4 separate regions of the Homo sapiens genome follow, and all the other regions are linked to region 1. Evidence: promoter capture Hi-C in 16 types of primary human blood cells and fetal thymus (Javierre and others, 2016). All regions are on one chromosome and are shown on one strand. The core of a region is centred on a gene start or on the middle of the fragment in contact, and the rest is flanking DNA. Distances in the headings are between cores, read along the strand shown.

Region 1 (6,989 bases), core at 2,170-4,669:
TCTCAACACCAGGTTGAGAACAGAACCTGGTGCAACAGCAGGGAATACAAACATCTTAAAGTTAACAAAGCACCACAAATATAGCTGATAAGACAGGTTTATAACAAAGCTGAATCATTACTGACTCAGGTAAGACCTGCTTTGAGTGCAACTCCATCATGCCCACAATTATTGATGTAACATTTTCCATACAGAGATCCTGCTAGAAAGTTATATCAAGCAAGGGCAGTGGCAAAAGTCTAAGCATCAACTCTTCATTACTTAAATCTCTGGGTACAAAGTAAATATTCACATCTGATCAAGATTCATGCTCATCCTTACAGTGAAATCAACCTTAGTGTTGCAAATGACATTTCATTCTACATATGAAATCTGATTTTCCAATTAGAATGAGGAGGGGTGGGGTACGTGTGATAGAGTATAGATGACTGATCTGTATGGTATATACAGTAAAGATGTCATAAAACTGAGATGGCCGTGGGTAAGCATGTGTGCTGCATAGCCAGATCGCAATGGTTTGGAATCCTGGCCCAATCACTTATTAACTACATAACCTTAGCCAAGTTTATTCGCCTGGCTAAGGACTGGTTTTTGCAAAATGTGAATAATAACACCTAATCCTATAAAGTGAGATTATTACTCTCTACTTCATAATAATAATAAGGGCTAAATAAGATATACACAAAACTTAATTCAGTACTGATACACAGTAAGAACTGAATAAATGATAGCTATGATTGTTATTATGATTATTATTTTTATCATCCCTATGCGGCCTAGTTATCGGCAAAGAATTAACTTCTTTGTAACTTTGTAATGTATTTGTGAAAGCCATGACCAAAAGTATAGAGGACATTAACTTCTTGTGAGGCTTCCATGGCCTAAACTCTGTCCAATAAACATGGTCTTGATGATCTATCATTACTGTGAAACAAAATTCCTTAAACTGTAGAAAGTTTCAGTGAGGCACCAATAAATACAGCCATAGAGAAATCTCTCCCTTCCCCTATACACACACACACACCATCTACCCCTTGGGGATATATTAAAACTAAGACAACTGAAATAGCCTTAGCCAGTAATTAAGACATGCAGCTAATCAGAGAGCAGCGCAGGCTGTGGCCCTCTACAAAGAAACGAAGAAACAAAACATTAGGATGATAGCTCTCATTACCAGGGCTTTGTTCTCCTGGAGCAAAAAGAGCACAAAAGCATAAAGTTGGAGAACTGTAATTGCATTTTGAACATTTGCGGGGGGAAAAATTACAGGGTTGTCTGAACCGGGAGGATGTTCCACTAGATAACTGCGTCAGTCCACACCCACCAGCGCCCTTCCCCACCCTCAAAGCATGACTCCACTTTTTCTAACACTGCCCTTAAGGAATCTAGCTTTTGTGACTTCCAGTAATTGAACAAATCAACCATGATGAAGCAGCTGAAGAGCACTTTAAACAAAAGAGACAAGAATTAAGCAAACAGAAAACTCATTACAATGCTGCCTTTTGCTTTTTTTTACTCCTAGAAATTCATGTTACCAAACAAGTCTTTCTTCATTGCTCTTCTTCAGAAATAATACTTTAAGAAAATTCTAAAAGGCACTAAGTGATTTTATCCAGATTTATAATCTAGCTACAAGACATACTTTCCCTTCCCCCATCACCATCTAGCACTCTTCCCTGTCACCTTAGAGCTTTCGACTTAGATGTGTTCACACCCAGCAGTCCCAGCAGAGCTTTCTGCTCACATTATATGACATAAAAAAGCAGGCAATGAACAATTCATGCTTCTAAGTGCTTGCGATAAAGCCAGGCTGAGCTGACCTCTCCCATCCTATACAGCTGCATGTCAGAAACATAAGCTTAAAGGACTGAGAGTAGCAAGCATGTGCGTGATGTGGTATAAACAAACAAATTAAAACCTGAGGCCTTTCCTCTGGCTGGTGCCTAATGGGACTAGCATACTTAACTCTGTGCAAAAAAAAAAAAAAAAAAAAAAAAAAAAAATCACTCCAAGCTAGCTAAAGGTATTGCTTTTCCTGCTTTCCATGATATATCTCTTTAGCCCCAATAAACAGACTAAAAGAAGAGGAATTCAATGGTTGCCATTCTTTCGTGTAAGACTTTTTGAGTAAAAACTATCAATTTGGCAGCATTAAGCCACAAGACCACTCCCTGATTCTAAGTGGACATATTGATCAATTGAACTGACATGTGCCTCCTCCTTTCTCTCCCCTAGTAGCAATCAGCTGTACCAGGGAAATCCATTTCATTTCCCAAAACAAAAGGCAACATTCTGCTCCTTATCTGACACTGTCAGACTAATTTTTTAGAAAATAATAATAATAATAAAGATGCCTAAAAACAGAGCTAGGAGTTGAAATGAAAATGATACGTGTTTAGAGTTTTGGAATTGAGTTGAGGTTATGACTGAGTCCAGAGGTCTGTAATCCCTACAACCACTGAGGACCCTGATATTTATTCATCATACCCAGATTTTTGTTAAAGTTAAGCAAGGGATGGCAACACCACTGCCACTTCAGAGGCTCTCCCAGGGTTACCCTTCACTGCAACTGCCGCAGAGAGGAGACTTGTTCCTTTCTCAGTTACAAGTCAGCCTGCAAACAACTCCAGCTATTTCAGAGACTAGCTAGAGATGGAAAAATATGTGGCAGTCTTTCAACTAACTCTGAAGGACATGGGTTGAAGAACTACCATATAGATCAAAAGGCTCAAATAATTTCATTTGGTTTAGGTTTTTATGCTTTTAATAAATTCTGTCTTGAATATGCAAGAGATCCCCTTTCACATCAGGGTTATGTCAAATGCTTATTCAGCATTTGTTCCTTGCCATGAAGAAACTGAAACCCAACCGAGGTAAATAATGAATTTCATACTGCAAATCACTGAATATTTCATAATTCACAAGAGCAAAGAGGGGGCCAATTAGCTCTGCCTCCCAAAAAGAAATCTATATTTTTACAATGCTTAAATACTGTTAACTACTCATTTTAAAGCTTATCTGGGGTTTTGCAATTGAAAAATCATCTTATGTTTATGAAAAATTCTGTAAGAACACTTAAAAATAACAGACAGAGCTGGAGCAAGAATAATTCTACATATTTTAATTCCTATATGACTCTTACAGGCCTTTGTCTTAACCCGGCAGCCTGAAAAACGATTTAGGTAAAACAGCCCTTCTTTCCCCAGTCCATTTTAAGCAGAGACAACATCCCCCAATCTCCGCCTTAGCAGACACCGACTAACCAACAAAACAGCCGTGCAATTAAGGCCCAGACATTTAACACTCACCATCTCCTGATCCCACCGTCTTCTTTTGATGTTTACAGCACATCTGTAGGATGCAATACTAGGAGATGCCTTGTTTGACCTGCTGCATGATGCTGTGACATCAGTTCAGATGATGCAGCTCATTATGGGAAAGACTGCTGTTGCTATGGCAACTGGGATGTGCTAGGAATCCTTGCTGCATTTCCAGTGGAGCCTGAGACAATACGGAAGCCCTGTAAGAAACAGACGATATGCAAAATTTAGACCAAAGGAAGAGGATTCCTCATTGGACTAAAATCCATAGGTTTAAAAGGGATTTCCCTGAAAGCATTTTGGAAAAAACAAAAATTATCTCCCCCTTTGTTGTTATACATTTAGAAAAAAAAGGTGGGAGGAGAAAATAGAATTAGTACTAAGCAAATAAAAACTGAAATGTACAATGTTTCCTTATTAGACAATTTGATCACTTTTTCCTCCCTGGTCAGCACTGGGATAGCTTTTTAAAAGTTATTAAAAAGAATTTTTGCTCATCTGTCAAAGACCAAAAGAACAAAACAGCGAGCACAAAAATAATTAAAAATGGAATATAAACAGCTGACCAAATGACTCTAACTCTCAAGTAAACAAGTTTTAATTCTCAAAACATGGGCAAACCCTTGGCCAATGAAGTCTGTCCTGGTTATTTTCCCTGATGAACACCAACCCACAGAACCTTCCCATGCAGAATAAACCCAGCTTTCACCTGGTCATCAGATAGGCAGCAAAGGGAAGTTTGGAATCTAGAGGGGCACAACACACCACCCTCAACTTCTACTGACCCTTCCTTTGGCCTGCAGGGAACCCCTCCTTCTCATGGCCAAAACGCATGTGAGTCTTTTCTGGGATCAAACCTAGTGGTTGGAACAAGTAGCAGACCTGCTAGAAACTTCCTAAATCGTTGGCATTCCAAACATTGGGGTCTGTTTTCTTCTTTTCTGAACAATAAAACTGCCTACCACACAGATTATTTGTGCCCCTCCCCAACCCCAAAAGCTGGAACTGTGTGAAAAGCCACATTTAAACAAGACACGGTAAGGCATTTCTCCAGTTGGTAAAAGAAAAGCAAATCTAAAGCAATCACTTCTTTCCAGTCCTGAGCAGAAATCAACGTCATGTGGTGAGAACTGGGGAGAAGGAGATATGGACAGAGCAGCCTATGTTTTGCATATTTAATATTTGCAGGCCATTGATAGAGAAAAGCAGAATCAAGTTGACCTGTATCCACTCCGTCTTCACAACTCTGAAAAAGAACAACATTCCAAAAGCTTAAAACATGAGACAATTATGTTGTCTCCTCCTGCTTGAGATTTTAAAATGGCACTGTTAACCACCAGCATAGGCGGTGTGGGATGAGTGGCAGAAGGAATTCAGGCAGTGTCTCTGTAAACAGGAGCTAATAAAATGCCTGAGAAGTGCCAATATCCCAGCAGCGTGCACCATCAGCCTCGCACAGAGCAACCCTGCCCTAGATGGGAAGACAGACTTGTTCTTGCTTCATCTAGAGAGGAATTAAGAGACCAAAAGCAGGAGGTGAATCTGCCTGCTTAGGTCCTTTGTGGCATCAGCAGAGCCTGACTCCCTCCCTTTATCTTAGACCTCAGACCACATGCCACACACAAGGGGAGAAGTAGCAGGCAGCTACCCCAGTACAAAGAGTACAGATCTGAGAGTCAGGAAACCCAACTGTAAATGTCAGGTCCTCCTAGAGCATCTGTGTGATATCAGGCCAATTGATTAACTTCTTGGGGCCTCAAGTTTTTCATCTGCAGAGATGATTGATTTAGCTAATAACCATAGTTTTCAGGTTTTTCATTAGTAATATAACCTTTCTTTTAATGATACAGATCAAAGCTGGACTGCCTTGGTTGAGGCAAGATAAGAAGCCCAGAGCCCAGACTGATGAGCCATTCTCAACCACTGCCTCCAACCTCATTTGCTGTAAGCTGACTCTTTAAGATACCTCTGAAGAACCCTTCAGTCTCTGGAGAAGATAAAGAGACATGGACCTATTACAGAACAAGATTAGTCTTTCCAGAGCTGAAATCCACATGCTATAAAGAGGAGAGGACAGGGTGGGAGCAGGTGTTCCAGATTTGAATATGGCTTCTCAAGATGGTAAGAATCTTGTTAATCTTTTTTGCCAGAAGCAAGTCAATCATTTGATGGGAAGAAATGGATGGCTCATCAAACCTGAGGCCAGGTCAAACTTTTAGCAACCTGGACTAGCTAAATTGCTTGCCCACAAAATGGCACTCACCAATGAAACGGAAGTAGAAGTGGAAACCATCAACTCCAAAGGTGGCTAAGACCAAGTGTCTCTTCTTCATGTTTTCCTGTCCTGCTAGCTGGATGCAAAGAATCCAGTGGAACTCTGAAGCCCAGAAAGATAATGGCCACACATTGTGGATGGAGCCTGGGTCCCTGAATGACTGCATGGAGCTCAACCATCCTCTCCCAACTACCTATTGACCTACACTGGGCTGCAATGAGTGAGAAACAAACACCACCAAGATTTTGGGGTAGTTTATTCTGAACAAATTATCCATTTATAGATAAAATTATAATTTAATAAAATATAAATTTTCTAACAAGATTATATTATATATCATTATTTATGATAAAGTGACAGTGTTAAAAACATGTTCCTTTATTGCAGACTTTCTTTTTTTATTTTATATTACTTTAAGTCCTGGGATACATGTGCAGAACATGCAGGTTTGTTACATAGGTATACATGTGCCATGGTGGTTTGCTGCACCTATCAACCCATCATCTAGGCTGTAAGCCCTGCATGAATTCGCTATTTGTCCTAATGCTCTCCCTCACCTTGCCCACAACCCCCCGAAGGGCCCTGGTGTATGGTGTTCCCCTCCCTGTGTCCATGTGGTCTCATTGTTCAAATCCCATTTATGAGTGATAACATGCAGTGTTTGATTTCCTGTTCCTGTGTTAGTCTGATGAGAATGATGGCTTCCAGCTTCATTCTTTTTTATGGCTGCATAGTATTCCATGGTGTACATGTGCAACATTTTCTTTATCCAGACTATCATCGATGGGCATTTGGGTTGGTTCCAAGTCTTTGCTATTGTAAATAGTGCTGCAATAAACATACATGTGCATGTGTCTTTATAGTAGAATGATTTATAATCCTTTGGGTATATACCCAGTAATGGGATTGCTAGGTCAAATACTATTTCTGGTTCTAGATCCTTGAGGAATCGCCACACTGTCTTCCACAATGGTTGAACTAATCTACACTCCCCAAAACAATGTAAAAGCGTTCCTATTTCTCCACAGGCTCTCCAGCATGTGTTGTTTCCTGACTTTTTAATAATTGCCATTCTAACTGGCGTGAGGTGGTATCTCATTGTGGTTTTGATTTGCACTTCTCTAATGACCAGTGATGATGAGCTTTTCTTTCATATGTTTTTTGGCCACATAAATGTCTTCTTTTGAGAAGTGTCTGTTCATATCCTTTGCCCACTTTTTGATGAGGTTGTTTTATTCTTGTAAATTTGTTTAAGTCCCTTATAGATTCTGGATATTAGACCTTTGTCAGATGGGTAGACTGCAAACATTTTCTCCCATTCTGTAGGTTGCCTGTTCACTCTGATGATAGTTTCTTTTGCTGTGCAGAAGCTCTTTAGTTTGATTAGATCCCAT
Region 2 (7,765 bases), core at 3,955-6,454, 800 kb after region 1:
ATCAGGATTTATCTGTAACAGGAAGGTGAGGGGTGGATATAAAATCACGACTGTTGGCAAGGAAAAAGAGAGAAGGAGTATTGTATGGGCACCAGAAGACTCTGCTATACCAAAGACAAAAGAGAAATATGAAATAATATTTTCACTACACTTTCTTCGGTTCAGAACAAGGTATGTGCCCCACCTTCTATGCCAAGTCAAAAATAAAGCAAGAGTTTCATGGCTTCCTGAAGCTATTTTATTTTCCCAGGGATTTTTCCCCCTCAAAAAGTATTCATTATTTGCTGGAAAATGTGTGGCACAGTGTTGGACTCATCAGCATTAGCACACATTCTACAAAGTTACAGGAAACTTACCTCCAGGTTTTGCTAGCACATTATTATCATAAGCCACTGTTCCCTGACAGTGGTCCTTCATTATACGATTTTGGTTGCATGCTTAGCTATAGAATGCCAGCTAGCACTGAGCCACCAACTTCTTACTACTCAGAATCCGTGTTATTCATTCACTTAACACATGTTTATTAAGCACAGCTAAGCTATGTGCTATACTAATGATGGTGAAAATCTACTGAATGCTTGCTACATACCAAGTACTATTTTAAGCTTTACATATACTAGTTCATTTAGTCCTCATAGAAGTTTTTATGAAGTATGTAGACATCATTACTATTTCTACTTCACAGGTGAGTGAGTTCTCAAGTGGTTAAGTATCTTGCCCAAGGACACACAAACAAGTAAAGTATGAATCCCAAAAGTCTGGATATAGACCAGGGTATCAACCTAAGAAGGCTGGCTCCAAAGACCATGCTCTTAACCACTACACCATCGTTGCATCACAGTGCAAAGATAAACATGGCATGTTTTCTTTTCTCTAAGAATTCACAGTCTAACCAAGGAGGCAAACATATACACAGTACAGTACAGAGTGGTTAATGCTATAATACCTTCCCAACAGAATTTCTCTCAGATTGATAAAGAAATCCTTATTGTTTTCATGAGAACCATTAAAATTTACCATAATCTATAGTAATGCTTTGAATTTATGTTATACTATCTCTATCTAAGGTTCTCAAGTTAGAACTGTCACGGATACATCTCTTAAGATTAATAAAATAGCACTGGAGGCCACGCACAGTGGCTCATGCCTGTAATCCCAGCATTTCAGGAGGCTGAGGGGACAGGGTCCCTTTAGTTCAGGAATTCAAGGCTGCAGTGAGTACAGTGGCCCCACTGCACTCCAGCCTGGGCAACAGAAATAAATAATAAATAAATAAATAATAAATAAATAAATAATACTGCATGAAAAACTGGGTTAAGCCTCAGGGGTGAGCAGAAAGAATAATTATGTTTAATAAAGAATCTGTCTGAGGAATTCAAGCCACTAACAGCCTGTGAACAGAGCTACAATTTATTGACCATTTACTATGTACAAAGCCTATATGTTAATGTAATCCTCATAACCACCCTATGAAATAGGAACTAGAATTACCCCTATTTTACAGACAAGGAAAGAAACTTAGTGAGAATAAGCCATTTGCCTGAGGATAAACGACAGAGACCAGGACCTGTCAGAACCATGGCTCAAACCGGAACAATGTAATTCCAAAATCAGTGCCAGTAAACTACTACACTGTATACCCATGGAGGACATTTTACCTTAAAAGACTATAAATGAGTATAGTTCATGTCAGACCATCTGGCCCAGTTACACAGTGGCTTTCCAAATAAGGTATTTGAAAATTTATATTGATTTTTGTAAAATGACTTCAAGAGAATGCATTGATTATTAAATTCCATTAAAGTCTCAAACTTTCATCTCCAGTTTCTGCTGCAAAGTTTACTGTTCTGAACTATTTATTTCCCAGATGCCTCCCATCAAAGCTGATTGGTATTAAACTGTTTATTATAGTCTCCTTCCTTTTATAAGCTCAATTGTGTCCCCCCGGCAAATTCGTATGTTGAAGCCCTAACCCCCAGAAACTCAGGATGTGACTGCAATTGGAGATAGAGCCTTTGAAGAAGTGATTAAGTTAAAATGAGGCCACTAGGGTGGGCCCTTTAGGGTGGGCCCTAATTCAATCTTACTGCTTCTTATAAGAAGAGGAAATCTGGACATACAAGGAGATAACGGGGAGGCATATGCACGGAGGAAAGGCCACAGGAGGACACAGTGAGAAGGTGGCCACCTGCAAGCCAGGAAGAGAGCCCTTAGAAGAAACCAATCCAGCTAGCACCTTGGTCTTGGACTTCCAGCCTCCAGAACTGTGAGGAAATAAATTTCTGTGTGGTCATTTAAGCCACCCAGTCTGTGGTATTTTGTTACAGCAGCCCTAGCAAACCAATACACTTCTTTAGCTATGAGCCTCTCCAAAGCAGATACCATGTCATGTTCAACTTTGTGTCTTTCACAATTCCTTGAACATTAAAGGCACTCTTCAAATGTTTATCTTATTTAGAGGTGACAGTGTACTGGCAGCCCTCGCTCGCTCTAGGCGCCTCCTCGGCGTCAGCGCCCACTCTGGTCACGCTTCAGGAGCCCTTCAGCCCGCCACTGCACTGTGGGAGCCCCTTTCTGTGCTGGCCAAAGCCTGAGCCGGCTCCCTCAGCTTGCGTGGAGGTTTGGTGGGAGAGGCGCAGGCGGGAACCGGGGCTGCACGCGGTGCTTGCGGGCCAGCGCGAGCTCCGGGTGGGCGTGGGCTCGGCGGCCCCGCACTCGGAGCAGCCGGCCGGCGCCGCCAGCCTCCGGCAGTAAGGGCTCAGTAACTGGGCCAGCAGCTTGGAGGGTGCGCCGGGTCCCCCAGCAGTGCCGGCCCGCCCGTGGTGCACTCGAATTCTCGCTGGACCTTTGCTGCCTCCCTGTGGGGCAGGGCTTGGGACCTGCAGCCTGCCATGCCTGAGCCTTCCCCCCGGCTCCCCGCCATGGGCTCCTGTGCGGCCCAAGCCTCCCCAATGGGCGCCACCATCTGCACTGCAGCGCCCCGTCCCATCAAACCCCCAAGGGCTGAGGAGTGCGGGTGCATGCCGATACTGGCCGGCAGCTCCGCCTGTGGCCCCAGGGCAGGATCCACTAGGTGAAGCCAGCTGGGCTCCTGAGTGTAGTGGGGACTTGGAGAACCTTTATGTCTAGCTAAGGGATTGTAAATACACCAATCAGCACTCTGTGTCTAGCTCAAGGTTTGTGAATGCACCAATCAGCACTCTGTATCTGGCTAATCTGGTGGGGACTTGGCGAACATTTCTGTTTACCTCAGGGATTGTAAACGCACCAATCAGTACTCTGTGTCTAGCCCAAGGTTTGTAAATGCACCAATCAGCACCCTGTGTCTAGCTCAGGGTTTGTGAATGCACCAATCAGTGCTCTGTGTCTAGCTAATCTAGTGGGGACTTGGAGAACTTTTGTGTCTAGCTCAGGGATTGTAAATGCACCAATCAGCACCCTGTCAAAACAGACCAATCAGCTCTCTGTAAAACAGACAATCAGCTCTCTGTAAAATGGACCATTCAGCAGGATGTGGGTGGGGCCAGATAAGGGAATGAAAGCAGGCTGCTGGAGCCAGCAATGGGAATGTATTCGGGTCCTCTTTCACAGTGTGGGAGCTTTGTTCTTTCCCTCTTTGCAATAAATCTTGCTGCTCTTCACTCTTTGGGTCCTCCCCGCCTTTATGAGTTGTAACACTCATGGTGAAGGTCTGCAGCTTCACTCCTGAGGCCAGCGAGACCACGAACCCCCAGGAGGAATGAACAACTTCAGATGTGCCACCGCCTTAAGAGTTGTAACACTCAGGGAGAAGGTCTGCAGCTTCACTCCGGAAGCCAGTGAGACCGCGAACCCACCAGAAGGAAGAAACTCTGAACATGTCCGAACATCAGAAGGAACAAACTCCGGACACGCCGCTTTTAAGAACTGTAACACTCACCGCGAGGGTCCGTGGCTTCATTCTTGAAGTCAGTGAGACCAAGAATCCACCAATTCTGGAGACATTATTATTATGGTTTCAAGAATTGCTTCAAGTAACTTCATTTAGAGATTGATGATGAGGACCTACAAGACCAAACAATAACAATATATTCAATTCAAAACAATCTATGTAATATTTATGGGGTGGTAGATATACAAAGAGGAATAAGACTATGCCTACCTTCAAAGAGCTTATTACTGGTAAACTAGAGAGACATGTAAATTAATCATTGCAATATTGCTTGATTAATTACAGTGGTGGAGTCGGGAAGAGGGCTGATATAGCTTATTTTTGTGTGCCCATCCAAATTTCATATTGAAATGTAATCTCCAGTGTTGAAAGTGGGGCCTGGTGGGGGGTGATTGGATCATAGGAGCAGATTTCTCATGAATGGTTTAGCACCATCCTCCTTGATACTGTCCTCATGATAGTGAGTTCTCATGAGATGTGGTTGTTTAAATGTGTGTAGCATCTCCCACCTTGTTCCCTTGTTCCTGCTTTCACCATGTGACATACCTGCTCCACTTTGCCTTCTACTGTGATTAGAAGCTTCCTGAGGCCTCCCCAGAAGCAGATGCCACTATGCTTCCTCTACAGCCTGCAGAACCATGAGCCAATTAAATGTCTTTTCTTATAAATTACCCAGTCTCTGGCATTTCTTTATAGCAATGCGAGGACTGACTAATACAGGGACATAAGAAAATTCACAAGGGAAATCACACTTTAGCAGGTATTTAAAAGCTGCTTTGCTCATAGAACTATCTTCACTCATTTGGTTTTTGTTTGCTTGCTTTTTGAGACAGTGTCTCATTCTGGCGCCCAGGCTGGAGTGCAGTGGCATGATTTCCGCTCACTGCAACCCCAGTCTCCCGGGTTCAAGCGATTCTCCTGCCTCAGCCTACTGAGTAGCTGGGATTACAGGAGTCTGCCACCATGCCCAGCTAATTTTTGTATTTTTAGTAGAGACGGGGTTTCACCATGTTGACCAGGGTGGTCTCGAACTCCCAACCTCCAGTGATCCACCCACCTCTGCCTCCCAAAGTGCTGGGATTACAGGTGTGAGCCACTGCACCCGGCCCACTCATTTGTTTTATGAGATAAACATATGTCTTACCTTTCTAAATGTATAGATGATTCAGTGGGGCACACCTGCTTGTTCTGTTGTACCTTCTATCCTCCCAGAGTATCCCAATTCTAATCTGTCTACTTCATCTCCAGTTGAATTACCCTAAATAGTGTTTTATCATATCACTCCCTTTTAAAAAAACTGCAGTAACTCCCAAATGTCTTTAGGACAATCTTCAAAATCTTTAACATCACATAAGATTCTTGAAAATTTGGCCTCAAACTATCATCCCTGTAACCTTATTTCTTTTTACCCCAACTCAACAATACTGACAACAATAGTCTCACTAAAAGCAGTTCCCTAGAACCAACTGGTAATGATTGTTTGGGCTACGTTTCATGAGGATAAGAATAATTCTTCTCTGGCCACCACAACTGCTCAAGTGGAGTCACCTAGTGTCTCTAAATCCACCATTATAACACAGTTGGCAAGCTCAATTTAAGAAGACAACTGCTTGCTGGTTCAAGGTTTTGTTAGCTCAGCAGGAAGGGATGTCATTAATGAATTCCAGCAAACCCGGAGGCTTGATGTTGTCGCTTTTGTTCTTTCTGTGTTCCTGCAGTTGAGTTGCAGTGATCTGGTGAAGGAATAGTTAGGCCAGAGTGGTTGTTACCGCAATAGAGAACCATCGTTGAAGACTTTTTAGTTTGCTGCTACCCAAATAACATACTTTAGTCACCTGTAAAATGAAAGGGTTGAACAAGGCCATCTCCAAGGCCCTTTTCTGTTCTAAAATGCTATGATTCTATAATCAATAGCCTGACTTTTTTAAATGTGAGAAAGCCTCAAGAAACCCTTAAAATAAGCTTCTAGCTTGTTCATGCACACACGATTTATTTATTCAGAATTATATTATGTAATAATAGTAGTTATACATGACCTTAAAAACAGATTCATTCCTGAAATTTATTTTATTTCGTTTGCCCTTTGAATATTTTTTATGTTCTATTTTAAAGTTTGTGAAGATATTTCCAATATAGCATACCACATTAGTCTCAACATCCATGTATATTATTTAGAAAAAAATAGTTTTTAATTTATCCCAGGAATGATGTTTCTATATAAAAATACTAGATTTTAAGCGGGTAATTTCCTTGGACAAAAAGTATTGATCTCTACTATAAAATACATTTTGAAAACTAATAATTGAAGTATTTGTAAGTAGTTAAATGCTTTCATTCTTTAATGAAAATTACTATTCAGTGTTCATTTTATTTGTAATAAAAGATCAGCTGAATTTCTTAATGCAAAATGAGCTTGTCCCAGTGCTTTTTATTCTCACTTGAAACTCACCCAGCTCCTTATATCTAATTGGAAATCTCACCAATTTCAGAGAAAATTAATAATAATTCAGATGAACCATATTGGTTTCTAAATGGAAATGGAAGTATATGGTTTAGATTCACATATCTCCTCTATGATATCTGACATTAATGTACTCCCTTCATTTCTTTCTTCCTTCATCCAGCCCTCATTGTCTTCTCTCTTTAGCTCTCTTTTCTTCTCCTTCCTTTCACAGATATTTACTAAATAAATATAAAGCTCATGTACCTGTGACCCTTATAGTTCTATCCCAGAATGGCATCATCAAAGGCACACAGTCCAAGAACAAACAGGAGTTCAAAAATAAAGCAAGTCCTTTACTTGTGTTGTCCGAACACCAAGAAGAAAGCACACAGTTCACATCAACACTTCTTAAAATCCCTTTCTATGCTGTCCCATCCACTGTCCTCACACATCCCCGGTAGTCCCTCACTTCTTCTATACAAGCCCCCAGAAAACTCTTCACCCAAACGTAGCCTTCTTGTTTTTCTCTTACACTCTTTTTGCTCTTGATTCTTAGCATAAAAATCCAAAAGAATCAAGACAGGGGAAAGGTTGGGAACTCATATATTAGTAATTTTTGTTCAATTCAAAGCATTTTTGTTCAACATGCTTTGGAAGTTATATGGAGAAGCATAGACCCTACCTTCAAAAGCCTATAATCAAATGGGGGATATTCAGCATTTGTTGGGCACTTATAACAAGTCAAGCATTGTGCCAAGCACCATGGATATAAAAATTAATAAGCAAGAATGTCTGCCCTAGAGAAGCTGACAGCCCAATGCTGAGTGGCCACATGGAGAGATAAGTAAAATGCAATGTGATAAATGTTAAAATAAACTTTACACAGAAATTGCTATAAAAACTTGACAGATCTTCCTTAAAAATGACTCACCAATACTCACAGTTAATGATATTAGCTTTATCCTTGTTACAGGAACTCCACTCTTGAATTGAAAACAATCGGTCATGGTTTCGTCATTCTCCCTGCCCTCTGCCTAACCAGTCCCCAGAATTTTGTGGCTTCATTCCTATTTCTAATAATATCTTCCCAATATATGATACGGTGGGGTGGGGATGGTGGGAGACAGGGAAAAAAAAAAAACCCTGGCTGTTATTTCCCAGAGGAAAGAAAATTAGAAATTCTAACAACCATGATAGCATTGTTTGAACTACATGGTTTCAGCCTTATGAACTGTGAAACATATGGTCTGTTTTGTGTTGTATCCCATAGCAGTATGATAGTCACAAAAATTTCACATAGATTAAAAAACAGAAGTCAGCCAGGTGTGGTGGTTCACACCTGTAATCCCACCACTCGAGCACTTCGGGAGGCCAAGGCAGAAGAATCACTT
Region 3 (7,093 bases), core at 1,059-3,558, 850 kb after region 1:
AGCAAAATGTTTTCAAGGTTCATCTGTGTTGTTGCAGTATCAGAACTTCATTCTCTTTTTACAGCTGAATTATATTTTATTGTATGTATATAACATAATTTTTAAATCCAGCCATCTGTTGTGTTGTTTCCACCTTTTGACTATTGTCAATAAAGCTACTATTATTGTGAATAAAGCTACTATTAACATTTGTATATAAGTATTTGTGTCAGTCCTTGTTTTCAATTATTGTAGGTATATACCTAAGAGTGGAATTACCGGTTCAAATGGTAATTTTATGTTTAACTTTTTGAGAAATCATAAAGCTTTTCAATTTGCACCATGTTACATTCCCACCAGCAATGTATAAACGTTTTAGTTTCCCCACATCTGTGCCAACACTTGTTATTTTCCTTTTTTTAATTATAGTGTAGTCATTCTGGTAGGTTGAATCAATCTTCTTGCCTCAGCCTCTGGAGTACCTGGGACTACAGGCACACACCACCATGTCCAGCTAAAACTTTTGATTTTTGAAGCTAGGAATATCAGTTGCCAAATTGATCAATAGTATCCAAGGATTTGAATTTTCTGTCACAGAATCTTCTGACAGACATTTGGACAGAGCTCCCTCATTATTTAGTAACATCTAAATTATTTAACTGGTATGAATAAAACTTAACATGGAAGTGACAAGGCACTTATCTCTTTTTTTTTTTTTTTTTTTTTTGAGACGGAGTCTCGCTCTGTTGCCCAGGCTGGAGTGCAGTGGCATGATCTCGGCTCACTGCAAGCTCCGTCTCCCGGGTTCACGCCATTCTCCTGCCTCAGCCTCTCGAGTAGCTGGGACTACAGGCGCCCATCACCATACCTGGCTAATTTTTTTGTATTTTTAGTAGAGACGGGGTTTCACCATGTTAGCCAGGATGGTCTTGATCTTCTGACCTCGTGATCCGCCCACCTTGGCCTCCCAAAGTACTGGAATTACAGGCATGAGCCACCGCGCCCGGCCACAAGGCACTCATCTTGTTACATCCATGTTAAAGCATAAAGACACTTCTACTTTAGTGTTTTAATTATTAAGGCATCTTAACTGTCTTTTTCTAATATTTATAGAGTAAGCTATCTCCAAAATTTGGGGCTAAAATAATGTTCAAGAATCTGCCTGTTGTCATAGACTTAATTTTATAAATGCAATAACAATATTAATTTGTGTTCTCTGATTTTCAGGTTATGTTTCAAGCTTTGTGTACTAAGTGACTGCACCTAAGTTATGTAGAACCACATAATATCACTCACCTATTGTCTTTGTATTTAGTTAATTCTATCAATCAATCAATACATGTCAATCAATAGGTAGTCCTGTCAATTCTAAATCAACTGAACTATCTAGTTAGTTCAACTGATACAACATGGAGATATTTGGGTCACATCCCACACTCAGTCCCTGAATACACCAGCATGCTTTGTACAAAGCATTCCAAACCGCAAGCATATAGCCTACGCAGAAATCCCCAAAACGTATGATATGAATTACAAGGAGATACAGAAAGAAGAAAATTAATCTTCATGACTAACTTTTTATAGAGAAAGTAACAGTAGTTTGGTGTCCTAGAAATCCTGCTAATTGACGTGGTATCAGGGCTCCCCTGGGCAATTGGGGGCTTGGTCTCTCTTACTTGGAATGACAAAAGCTTTGGGTAGATGAAAACTTTAATTGCTGACCCTATTTCAAGGTTTTGAAGCTTGAACAGTTTTTTTTTTCTTTTTCGGAAAGGGAGATATGAATTGATGACCAGGCTGTGGCTCCGACTACAGCTGCAATGAGAAATGGATGGTGCTTTTTTCCACCCCACACTATCCCAGGTCCTGACAAGCCCACTGAAGTTTTAGTTTTATGATGCAGGATTTAAGAAAGAAAATTATTGAATGCAACATAGGATTCTTTGAAACAAGATTTGGATTTTGGAAATCTAGCAGCTACAGAGAGTGCCTTTTGTCTACCTCCTCAGGCCTGCTACAATAATAAACAAGGAACATGCCCTGGAAAGCGTGGATTTTGTGGTATTTGTAAGCCATATGTTGTCATTCCTTACAGCTATCTATGTACGCTTTAAATTGTCTTTTTCATGAGACCTAGGTCAGGGCTTTTTGAAGTATTTTGTTCCATCTTTCTATAAATTGTAAACAACTCAGGGACAGAAAGAATTCTATCAACTATAGCATTTCATTTCTATAATATTATACACAATTGATAATAAAAGATATTTAATAAAAGTTGAGTTTGCACAATTACAACATGTAAAGCACTGTATAAATATAAGATATTAAGAGTTTTTTTAAAGTCAATTTAAATGTAAGAAAATAGGGTATAATTAAGAAAATTATTCCCAAATGCATTTTTAACCTCACAGAAAACTGGTTAATTTTTTAAAAATCTACTCATTATAATTGCGTTGATCTCATCAACCTCCTCACTATTTTGAATTCTCAGGACTCAAAAGGTTTATAAACAAAGAGTTGGTGGTTTTGCTCTGTGGAACTGGTACAAAGAGACACTGTTTCAAAACAATGTGCCTGTCAGCACTCGATTATATAAAGCAGCTTCACTATATCAGTATCAAACTGGTTTAAGAACAAAATACAAGGATGATTAGAGATGCATTTTAAATGCCAGTGTAAGTTCTTTCCTCAAGAAGTAGCTCTTTGTTTTGATGAGAAGGATGCTCAGATGCTAACGTGTGTGAGAGGGGTTAGGGTATAAGATAGAATGCTGTGTACAACACAAATCTGATTCCATATCCCTGAGAAATTAGGGGAAACAATCATTTACCAGTATAGTATATGTACCTGGCACTGTGATAGGCACTGGGGAAACAAGAGTGAATCTGACACAATCCCTGTCCTAAAGAAGCTTGAAGTCTAGTGCAGTGGTTCTGAATTTGGCTCCACATTGTAATCATCTGGGATACTTTTTTAAAATGTCAGTTTCAAGGCCTTATCCAAACCAATTAAAACTAAAATCTCTAGAAGCAGGACGCAGGAACCAGTATCTTTGTTTGTTTGTTTGTTTGTTTCTTGAAACAGTCTCACTGTCACCCAGGCTGAGGTGCATTGACATGATCTTGGCTCACTGCAACCTCTGCCTCCTGGGTTCAAGCAATTCTCGTGCCTCAGCCTCCATAGTAGCTGGGATTACAGGCGTGTGCTGCCACGCCCAGCTAATTTTTGTATTTTTAGTAGAGACAGGCTTTTGTCATGTTGGCCAGGCTGGTCTCGAACTCCTGACCTCAAGCAATCCACCCACATTGGCCTCCCAAAATGCTGGGACTACGGTGTGATCCACCGTACCCGGCCAGTATATTTTTTATTCTCAGATTAAGTCTAAAGTACAATTAGGTTAGAAAACTCCAGTTTAGTAGGAAAGAAAAAGGAGTAAAATGGTAATTCCTGCCTTCACCAGTCAAAAAAGTTTTCCTGGATAAGGGCCTGAGTCCTGCAGAACAGTGTTAGGCATATAAAGAAGAGGAGGATAGTTCCTTCAAAGAGAGGAAGCAGAATGTGTAAGAGCCCTGGAGGGAAAGAGAAGACATTGCTATAAAGCAGCACTACCCAAACCTCAATATGCAAATGAATCACCTAATAATCTTGTTAAATGTTGATTTGATTCAGTAAACCTGGAGTAAATCTAACTTCAGTAAGTCAGATTCTGCATTTCTCTTTTTTTTTTTTTTGAGACAGAGTCTTGCTCTGTCGCCCAGGCTGGAGGGCAGTGGTGTGATCTAGGCTCACTGCAAGCTCCGCCTCCCAGGTTCAAGCAATTTTCTGCCTCAGCCTCCCAGGTAGCTGGGATTACAGGTGCCTGCCACCACACCCGGCTAATTTTTGTATTTTTAGTAGAGACGGGGTTTCACCATCTTGGCCAGGCTGGTCTTGAATTCCAGACCTCATGACCCACCTGCCTCAGCCTCCCAAAGTGCTGGGATTACAGGCGTGAGCCACCACTCCAGGCCAGATTCTGCATGTCTTTTTTTTTTCTTTTTCTGAGACCGAGTCTTGCTATGTTACCCAGACTGGAGTGCAGTGGCGTGATCTCGGCTCACTGCAAGCTCCGCCTCCTGGGCTCACGCCATTCTCCTGCCTCAGCCTCCCGAGTAGGTGGGACTACAGGCACCCGCCACCACGCCCAGCTAATTTTTTGTATTTTTAGTAGAGACGGGCTTTCACCCAGGATGATCTCGATTTCCTGACCTCCTGATCTGCCCGCCTCGGCCTCCCAAAGTGCTGAGATTACAGGCGTGAGCCACTGCACCCGGCCCAGATTCTGCATTTCTAACAGGATCCCAAGGGATCCTGTTGCTGCTGGTCCAGCACAAGCCAAAAAACATAATTGCAACATTAAGTGTGAGAAGCAGGCTGGAAACATGAGCTGGAAAAGTCAACCAGGACTAGATCCTGAGAGCCTATAAGAAGGAATTTGGACTTGATCCTAGACTTTATCTTGAGGGCATTTGGAAGCCACTGAAAGACCTTAAACCTAAGAGTGATAGGTTGAGATTTGCATTTTAGAAAGATAGATTGCTCTGTCTACTACAGTAGAGAGGTCAAAACTAGAGGTGGGTGGCCAAATAGGACAGTGCCAAAGTAATCTAAGTAACAGATGATGTGGCCTACTAAAAAAGTGTAAGTAAGGATCAAGAAAAGTCGAGTTCTGTAAATTCTGTTGGTTGAAGGGGAAGTTGAGGACAATTCCTCTGTCAATTAGTGTTCTTTGTTGCAAACAGTAGATTTCATTCTGGCTGATTTAAGCAAAAACTGATTTATTAAAAGACATTAAGTAACTCACAGAATTATTAGGATAGTTGGAGAAACATTCAAGGAGCAGCTCTCAGAAACCATGCCCAAAACATGCCACAAAACTACCCAAATCAGGAATTTGTCACTGGTGTTCCGTATTTCAGTAAATGATACCAAATGTTGCTGCTGCTGCTGTTGAGCCCAAAATATCAGCAATTTGGCTTTACTAAAACTGCTACTGCCGCTGATACCATTTCTGCATTAGGTCTTGAACCACTCTGTGCCTGAAAGCTCTGACAACAGGACAGAAATCTCATGCAGAGCTTGCTTATTCACATTGCTCACTTCCAAATTTAGTCTTGCACAAGGATATCTAGTCAGCATGCCTGTATCCTAGCTGCAAATGAGGCTGGGGAATTTAAGTTCTGATTTCTACATGAGTGAGAAGGGGTTACTCAAAATGTAGGAATTTCCCCAAATATAAAAGCCATTCAAAAGATGATGGATAGAATATGACAAATGCATACATTTCTGTATTCGGAGACAGCTCGTGGTTTCCATTTACAGAAATAAGGAAGAAGGAAGGAAGAAGGAAAGAAGAAAGAGGAAGGAAGGAAGGAAGGGAGGGAGGGAGGGAAAGAAAAAAGGAAAAGAAAGAAGAAAGGAAAGAAAGAAAGAGAAAGGAAGGAAGGAGGAAGGAAGGAAGAAAGGAAGGGAGGGAGGGAAAGAAAAAAGGAAAGGAAAGAAGAAAGGAAAGAAAGAACAAAAGCAAGAAAGAAAGCAAGAAAAAGAAAGAAAGAAAGAAAAAGAGGAAGGAAGGAGCAGGTAAAGAAGTTCAGTCTTGGACATTGATATGGTTTGGCTCTGTGTCCCCATCCAAATCTCATCTCGAATTGTAATCCCCATGTGTTGAGGAAGGGAAATGATTCGATTATGGGGGTGGTTTCCCCCATGCTCGTCTCACGATAGTGAGTTCTCACAAAGTCTGATGGTTTTATAAGGCAGTTTTCCTTGCTCTTGCATGCTTTTCTCTCTCCTGCTGCCTTGTGAAGAAAGTGCCTGTCTCGCCTTCCAACAGTGAGCTAATTAAATCTCTTTCCATTATAAATTACCCAGTCTCAGGTATGTTTTTATAGCAGTGTGAAAACAGACTAATACAGACATACTAAGTTTCAGGTGCCTGTCAACTGAAGAATGACAAGGCTCATAAATTTGGAAAGAAGAACTTTATTTCTCATAAAAAATTGCAGCCTGCAGGGTGATCATTGTGACAGGCTTTGAAGCATAACCTCCAGCCAGAAGCCAGAAACAGGCACTTTAAAGGTTAGAAGAATAAGACAGGAATTTATGCTGAAAAGGGTAGCTAAATATACAGTATTCAATAAGCTATAGAAGGAGTCCTGAATATTTATGAGAGGATAAATATGTGCATGTGTAATTGAGCTTCATGCTTCTTTATGGGACCCATGTTCCAAAAATGGCGGCATTAGCGTTATCTGAAAGTGGAGTTTTAGGCCTCCTGATGTCAAAAAGTGAAGCAGAGGACACAAAAGCCCTCACTGTGCATTCTCCATAGACTGGCCAAACCACTCCATGGTCGGTGATCTCTCATAAGGAAGAAATGCTGGTTGGTTGTTTTGTTGAAACTGCAAGAGAGGCAGTGTTCAGGCCTTTGGTTGAAATCAAGGGTGGAGTCTTTTGAAAGGACTAGTTTCTGTTTAGTCCTAAGGGAAGAAAGCCTAATGGCAGTTAGCGTGGGAGGGAGTACAGCAAGGTATGTCTGACCTCCCATCCCATCACGACCGAGAGTTTTCAAGGTTTCTCTGGGGTCCCCTTTGCCGAGAGGGGGTCTGTTCAGTCAGGTTGGAGACTTAGAATTCTATTTTTATTTCTCATGCCTGAGAGACATTAAAATGGACTATCACCTAAGATCAGGAGTTCGAGACCAGCCTGGCCAACACGGTGAAACCCCGTCTCCACTAAAAATAAAAAATAAATAAAAAAATTAGCCGGGCATAGTGGCGGGCTACTTGGGAAGCTGAGGCAGGAGAATCACCTGAACCTGGGAGGAGGAGGTTGCAGTGAGCCAACATTGCGCCACTGCACTCCAGCCTGGGTGAGAGACTGAGACTCGATCTCAAAAAAAAAAAAAGTATTGAATAGATGAACGAATGAACAGTAACTAAAGCCATGGGAGTAGAGTCATAGCCTCAGGTGAGTGTGTACAGTGAGCACTCAAGGCTGAGGCTGGAACACTGATGTTTAGAGGCAAGCACAGAGGTGATCCCATGACAGGAACTTCAGAAGGAGCATATGGAAA
Region 4 (6,877 bases), core at 2,640-5,139, 670 kb after region 1:
GTGCCATATTCTTTTCACATACATATCCAAGAAGCAGGAGGTTTACAGTTACTCCAACATACATGAGATTAATAGATAACACACAGTTGAAAGGTTAGCTAATATGAAAACAGGTTTCTTTCTATTGCTTGAAGATGCCCAGACAATTTCCCTGGAATGATTTAACAGTGTTCTGATATATCAAGTTACTCTGTAATTAATATGAATCATCTTTTAAACAGTAGTTGAATTTTTTTGTTTGTTCTGACATATCTTTTAGGTAGATTTCTGTTATTCTCAATCTTTCTGTTTATAGGGGACATTTCCAGCCTTATCAAATTCATATGATGTATAAGACTCTTTTTCTTCTATTAGTTCTGACTTCTAAAATTCTCAAGTTTTTGAAGTAGCAAATTCTCAAGTTTTTGAAGTAGCATTTTTAAGTAGCAATAGTAAGCTACAAGTACAAGGAATTCAAGAGCTGGAATTTAAAACTCACTAGCAATACATACCCATGAGTAGTAAAAAAGAAGAGTGTTGAGCAGCAAGTTAGAAAAATATGAATGACATACTGAGATAAGAAAAAGATATCTATAACAAGGGCTAAACACAAAATTACACTTGTTATAGTGACCAAAATGCCTGTTCATGTGTATATTATGAAGCAAGAAAAAACCTGTTTAAGGCTTTAACCTGTATTAAACATTTTAAAAAGACCAAATTATGACTGCCTGCATAAAAAGACCCAATGAAGGACAAAAATAGAAAATAAATAGAGGTACAGCCAAAGACAAGACACTGGCTTCGGTGTGGCCTTTATAACATTGTGGCTATAAGACTTATATAAACCGAATTTGTTTTGAAAGATAATATACTTACAAATACTTAGAGGCAAACTCTTTTCAATAAACATTGTTTAGATAATAAAAGCCTTACTATATTACCCATTTAGTTACACTAGAGATTTGAAAGCTTATATGAATGGCCCATATATCAGAGTATATAGATAAGAAATCATAGTAAAGAAGTAATAAAAAGCACAGTCATCAATGACTGCCATACCACATTAAATTGGAGGCTGCCCACACAGGTAATAAAACTTTGGATGTTGGGGGTCTGGTGATTTTGGTTACTGGCTACATTTGAAGTATTTCTAGAACAGTGACTACATTAAAGATTTCATTCTGTGCCATTTAATATTTAGGCAATTATCAATTTATATAATAGCTGTACCGCTAAAAAAGACTGCATAAAAATTACATTTCTTTAAAAAGGAATTTGATTTTAAAGGCTTACTACATAAGACAATTCTTTCTCCTCACTCACTCATTCAACATATTTATTGAGTGCCTTCTACAGGCATACTTTTGTTTTATTTTGCTTTGCCTTATTGTACTTTGCAGTTACTGCATTTTTTACAAATCAAAGGTTTGTGCAACCCTACATTGAGCAAGTCTATTGGTGCCATTTTTCCAATAGCATGTGCTCACTTCATTTCTATATGTCACATTTTGGCAATTCTGACAATATTTCACACTTTTTTATTATTAGTATGTCTATCATGGTGATATTTGATGTTACTACTGTAATTGTTGTGGGGCACCATGAACTGCACCCACATAAGATGCAAACCTATTCAATATATGTTGTGTGTGTGTTCTGACTGCTCGACTGACCAGCCCATCCCCCTATCTCTCTCTCTCTCTCCTCAGGCCTCCCTATTCCTTCAGACAACAATATTGAAATCAGGCCAATTAATAATGCTATCATGGCTTCTAAGTGTTTAAGTGAAATAAAAAGTTATATGTTTCTCACTTTAAATGAAAAGATACACATGATTATGCTTGGTAAGGAAATTGTGTCAAAAACCAAGATAGGCCAAGAGCTAGGCCTCTTGAACCAAACAGCCAAGTTGTGAATGCAAAGGAAAAGTTCTTGTAAGAAACTAAAAGTGCTACTCCCATGAACACATAAATAAAAAGAAAGCAAAACAGCCCTATCACTGAGACAGAGAAAGCTTTATTGGTCTGGATAGAAGATCAAACCAGCCACAACATTCTCTTAACCCAGAATGTAATCTAGAATATGGCCCTAACTCTCTTCAATTCTATTAAAGCTGAGAGAGGTGAGGAAGATACAGAAGAAAAGTTGGAAGGTAGCAGATATTGGTTCATGAGGTTTAAGAAAAAAAAAGCCATCTCTATAACATAAAAGTACAAGGTGAAGAAGCAAGTGCTGATGTAGAAGGTGTAGCAAGTTATCCAGAAGATCTAGCTAAGATAATGGAAGGAAGTAGCTAAACAACAGATCTTCAATGTAGATGAAATGGAAGAAGATACCAGGACTTTCACAGCTAGGGGAAAAAAGTTAATGCTTGGCTTCAAATAATAGGTTTACTCTCTTAATAGGGGCTAATGCAGCTGGTAACTTTAAGTTGAATCCAATATTCACTGACCATTTTGAAAATACAAGGGCTCTCAAAAATTATGCTAAATCTACTCTGCCTGTGCTCTATAAATGGAAAAATAAAGCCTGGCTGACAGCACAGCATGGCTTACTAATATTTTAAGCCCACTGTTGAAACCTTTTTGTCACCCAGGCTAGAGTGCAGTGGTACCATCTCGGCTCACTGCAGCCTCAACCTCCTGGGTTCAAGTGATCCTCCTGCCTCAGCACCCAAAGTAGCTGAGACTACAGATGCTCTCTGCCATGCCTTGCTAATTTTTGTATTTTCAGTAGAGACGGGGTTTTGCCATGTTGCCCAGGCTGGTCTCAAACTCCTGAACTCAGGCAATCCACCCGCATCAGCCTCCCAAAGTGCTAGGATTACAGGTGTGAGCCACCATGCCCGGCCAATTCCTTTCAAAATATTACTGCTCATTGACAATGCACCTGGACACCCAAGAGCTCTGATGGAGATGTGCAATCAGATGAATGTTGTCTTCATGCCTGCTAACAAAACATCCATTCTGCAGCCTGTGGATCAAGAAGTAATTTTGACTTTCAAGTCTTATTATTACAGAAATACACTTCATAAGGCTAAAGCTGCCATAGATAGTAATTCCTCTAACGGATCTATCAATTGAAAATCTCCTGGAAAGGATTCATTATTCTAGATGTCATTAAGAACATTCATGATTCATTGGAGGGGATCAAAGTATCAAAATGAACAGGAGTTAGGAAGAAGTTGATTCCAACCCTCATGGATGACACTGAGACTAGAATTAGAAATGGAGCCTGAAGATGGGACTTAATTGCTGCAATCTCATGGTAAAACAAACAGATAAGGAGTTGCTTTTTATGATAAGCAAAGAAAGTACTTTCTTGAGATGGAATCTACTCTGTGAAGATGCTGTGAACTTTGTTGAAATGACAACAAAAAGTTTAGAATGTTATATAAACTTAATTGATAAAGCAGTGACAGGGCTTGAGAGAATTGACTCCAATTTTGAAAGAAGTTCTACTGTGGGTAACTGCTATCAAACAGCATTACATGCTATAGACAAATCATTCATGAAAAGAAGAGTCAATCAATGTGACAAACATCATTTTTGTCTGAAGAAATTGCCATAGCCGGGGCAGGCACAGTGGCTCACACCTGTAATCCCAGCACTTTGGGAGGCCGAGGTGGGTAGATCATGAGGTCAGGAGATTGAGACCATCCTGGCTAACACTGTGAAACCCCATGTCTACTAAAAAATAGAAAAAATTAGCCAGGTGTGGTGGCGGGTGCCTGCAGTCCCAGCTACTCTGGAGGCTGAGGCAGGAGAATGGCATGAACCCAGGAGGCGGAGCTTGCAGTGAGCTGAGATCATGCCACTGCACTCCAGCCTGGGCAACAGAGCGAGACTCTGTCTCAAAAAAAAAAAAAAGAAAAAAAAAAGTTAATTGCCATACCCAACCCAACATTCAGCAACTACCACCCTGATCAGTCAGCAGCAATTCACATGCAGGCAACACCATCCAAAGGCAAAAAGATTACCATTCACTGAAGGCTAATGATCATTAGCATTTTTAAGTAATAAAATATTTTTAATTAAGGTACATACATATTTTTAGACATAATGCTATTTCACACTTCATGGACTACAGTATAGTGTAAACATAACTTTTATATGCAATGGGAAACCAAAAAATTCATGTTGCTTACTTTATTGAGACACTTGCTTTATTGTGGTGGTCTGGAACAAGACCTGCAACATCTCTGAGATATACCTGTATGTACCAAGTATGAAGTTTGGTGTTAGTGCTATAGTAGCAAAGAAAAACAGACATAATATCTTCCCCCATGAAATACAAAGTCAATAGGAGAGACAGATACTAACCACACAATTGTTGTGGGAAGTCAGGGACCCTGAACAGAGGAACCAGCTGGAGCCGCAGCAGAGGAACACAAATTGTGAAGATTTCATGGACATTTATCACTTCCCTAATAATACTCTTATAATATCTTATGCCTGTCTTTACTTCAGCCTCTGAACATAAATTGTGAAGATTTCCTGGACATTTATCAGTTCCCAAATAATGCTCTTATAATTTCTTATGCCTGTCTTACTTTAATCTCTTAATCCTGTTATCTTCATAAGCTGAGGATGTACGTCACCTCAGGACCACTATTGTACAAATTGACTGTAAAACATGTGCGTTTGAACAATACGAAATCAGTGCATCTTGAAAAAGAACAGAATAACAGCGATTTTCAGGGAACAAGGAAAGACAACCATAAGGTCTGACTGCCTGCGGGGTCGGGCAGAATACAGCCATATTTTTCTTCTTGCAGACAGCCTATAAACAGACCTGCAAGTAGGAGAGATATCGCTAAATTCTTTTCCTAGCAAGGAATATAATATTAAGACCCTAGGAAAAGAATTGCATTCCTCGGGGGAGGTCTATAAACGGCTGCTCTGGGAGTGTCTGTCTTATGCAGTTGAGATAAGGACCAAAGTACGCCCTGGTCTCCTGCAGTACTCTCAGGCTCACTAGAGTGGGGAAAAACCCCACCCTGGTGAATTTAAGGTCAGAACAGTTCTCTGCTCTCAAAGCCTGTTTTCTGTTGTTTAAGATGTTTATCAAGACAATACGTGCACAGCTGACCATAGAACCTCATCAGTAATTCTAATTTTGCCCTTTGCCTTGTGATCTTTGCTTTTGTCCTTGCCCTGTTTCCTCAGAAGCATGTGATCTTTGTTCTCTTTTTGCCCTTTGAAGTATGTAATCTTTGTGACCCACTTCCCGTTCGTACACCCCCTTCCCTTTTGAAGTCCTTGATAAAAACCTGCTGGTTTTGCGGCTCAGGTGGGCATCACAGTCCTACTGATACGTGATGTCACCCCCAGAGGCCCAGCTGTAAAATTCCTCTTTTTTTACTCTTTCTCTTTATTTCTCAGACCGGCTGACACGTAGGGAAAATAGAAAGAACCTATGTTAAAATATGGGGGGTGAGTTCCCCCGATACACAATCACTAGATAAATGTAAATTTGTAACCAAAACTAGTGCTATGAAGGAAATTATAGGATTTGGCCTTGTCACAGGGTCTTTGGTACAAAGGAAAACCTCTCCATAATTTAAAAACGCAACTCACAAACTTGATGGTTTTATAAATTTTGGTTTTTATATATTGATGTCTTTAAAATCAGGGCACACATATTAGAAATGTTATTACTTTATATAAATGCCATCATTTAAAGAAAAAGCAACTTTATTTTTTAATCATTTTTAATTGACAAAATTTATATATATTTATGGTATACAAAGCAATGTTCTCATATATGTATATACTATGGAGTGATTCAATCAAGCTTATTAATATAAGCTTGTCAATTTTTTGTGGTGAGAACACTTAAAATGTACTCTCTTAGCAATTTTCAAGTGCACAATGCATTAGTATTTTAACTACAGTCCCCACGCTGTACAATGGCTCTCCTCAACTTATTTCTCCTACCTAACTGAAACTTTGTGTCCTTTGGCCAATATCTCCCCATTCTCCCATTTGGAACCCCTGGTAACCACCATTCAACTCTCTAATTCTCTGAGTTCCACTTTTTTTAGATTCCGCACATAAGTGAGATCACATGATATTTGTCTTTCTATGCCTGGCTATTTCATTAAGCTTAATGTCTTCCAGCTTTACTCATATAGTTGCAAATGACAGAATTTCTTTCTTTTATGAGGCTGAGTAGTATATATATGATATATTCTGTATATATATCACATTTTCTTTATCCATTCATTCAACCACATTTTCTTTATCCATTCATTCATTGATGGACACTTAGTGATGTTGAGCATTTTTTCATGCACCTATGGGTCATTTGCATGTCTTCTTTTGAGAAATGTCTATTCAGATCCTTTGCAGATTTTTCTTTTTTTCTTTTTTTTTTTTTTTGAGACAGAGTCTCGCTCTGTTGCCCAGGCTGGAGTGCAGTGGCACTATCTCAGCTCACTGTAAGCTCTGCCTCCCAGGTTCATGCCATTCTCCTACCTCAGCCTCCTGAGTAGCTGGGACTATAGGCACCCACCACCACACCTGGCTAATTTTTTTGTATTTTTAGTAGAGATGGGGTTTCACCATGTTAGCCAGGATTGTCTCGATCTCCTGACCTTGTGATCCACCTGCCTCAGCCTCCAAAAGTGCTGGGATTACAGGCGTGAGCCACCACGCCCGGCCACACATTTTTCAATACAGTTATTTGTTTTCTTGCTATTAAGTTTCTTAAATATTTTGGATATTAACCCTTTATCAGATGTGTGGTTTAAAAATACCATCTACCATTCCATAGGTTACAAAAGAAAGAAACTTTAAATGTGTATTACACAATACCTGAGATAACCCATCCTTAAAAAAAATGTGATTCATGCTAAAAAACCTAAGATAAAATTTGAGAAGTAATTTCACAT

The links. The method cuts DNA at HindIII sites, captures the fragments that hold promoters and counts their contacts. A CHiCAGO score of 5 or more calls a contact.
Region 2: a fragment that was not itself captured here is called in contact with the fragment with the promoter of AKAP6 in region 1 in 1 of 17 cell types (endothelial precursors); the score reaches 5.1 in endothelial precursors.
Region 3: a fragment that was not itself captured here is called in contact with the fragment with the promoter of AKAP6 in region 1 in 1 of 17 cell types (endothelial precursors); the score reaches 6.3 in endothelial precursors.
Region 4: a contact is called between a fragment that was not itself captured here and the fragment with the promoter of AKAP6 in region 1, in 1 of 17 cell types (naive CD4 T cells). The highest score is 5.2, in naive CD4 T cells.

What each region holds. Positions count from the first base shown.
Region 1 is chr14:32,325,728-32,332,716 of GRCh38, reverse strand. It overlaps AKAP6 (A-kinase anchoring protein 6), which reads right to left and starts at 3,419. Exons shown (of 14, transcript NM_004274.5): 1 at 3,309-3,419. RefSeq lists an enhancer at 1,160-1,454. The HindIII fragment of the contact is 1,578 bases long and covers 3,016-4,593 here.
Region 2 is chr14:31,522,331-31,530,095 of GRCh38, reverse strand. LOC105370438 (a long non-coding RNA gene) reads right to left here. Exons shown (of 4, transcript XR_943723.3): 2 at 3,920-4,044. Among named protein-coding and RNA genes, the nearest start is that of NUBPL-DT, 35 kb to the left of the region's middle. The HindIII fragment of the contact is 1,383 bases long and covers 4,513-5,895 here.
Region 3 is chr14:31,474,720-31,481,812 of GRCh38, reverse strand. No RefSeq gene overlaps it. Among named protein-coding and RNA genes, the nearest start is that of GPR33, 9.8 kb to the left of the region's middle. The HindIII fragment of the contact is 1,169 bases long and covers 1,724-2,892 here.
Region 4 is chr14:31,651,387-31,658,263 of GRCh38, reverse strand. The region is part of intron 4 of NUBPL (NUBP iron-sulfur cluster assembly factor, mitochondrial); the gene reads right to left. Among named protein-coding and RNA genes, the nearest start is that of NUBPL, 93 kb to the right of the region's middle. RefSeq lists a silencer at 4,854-5,054. The HindIII fragment of the contact is 3,782 bases long and covers 1,999-5,780 here.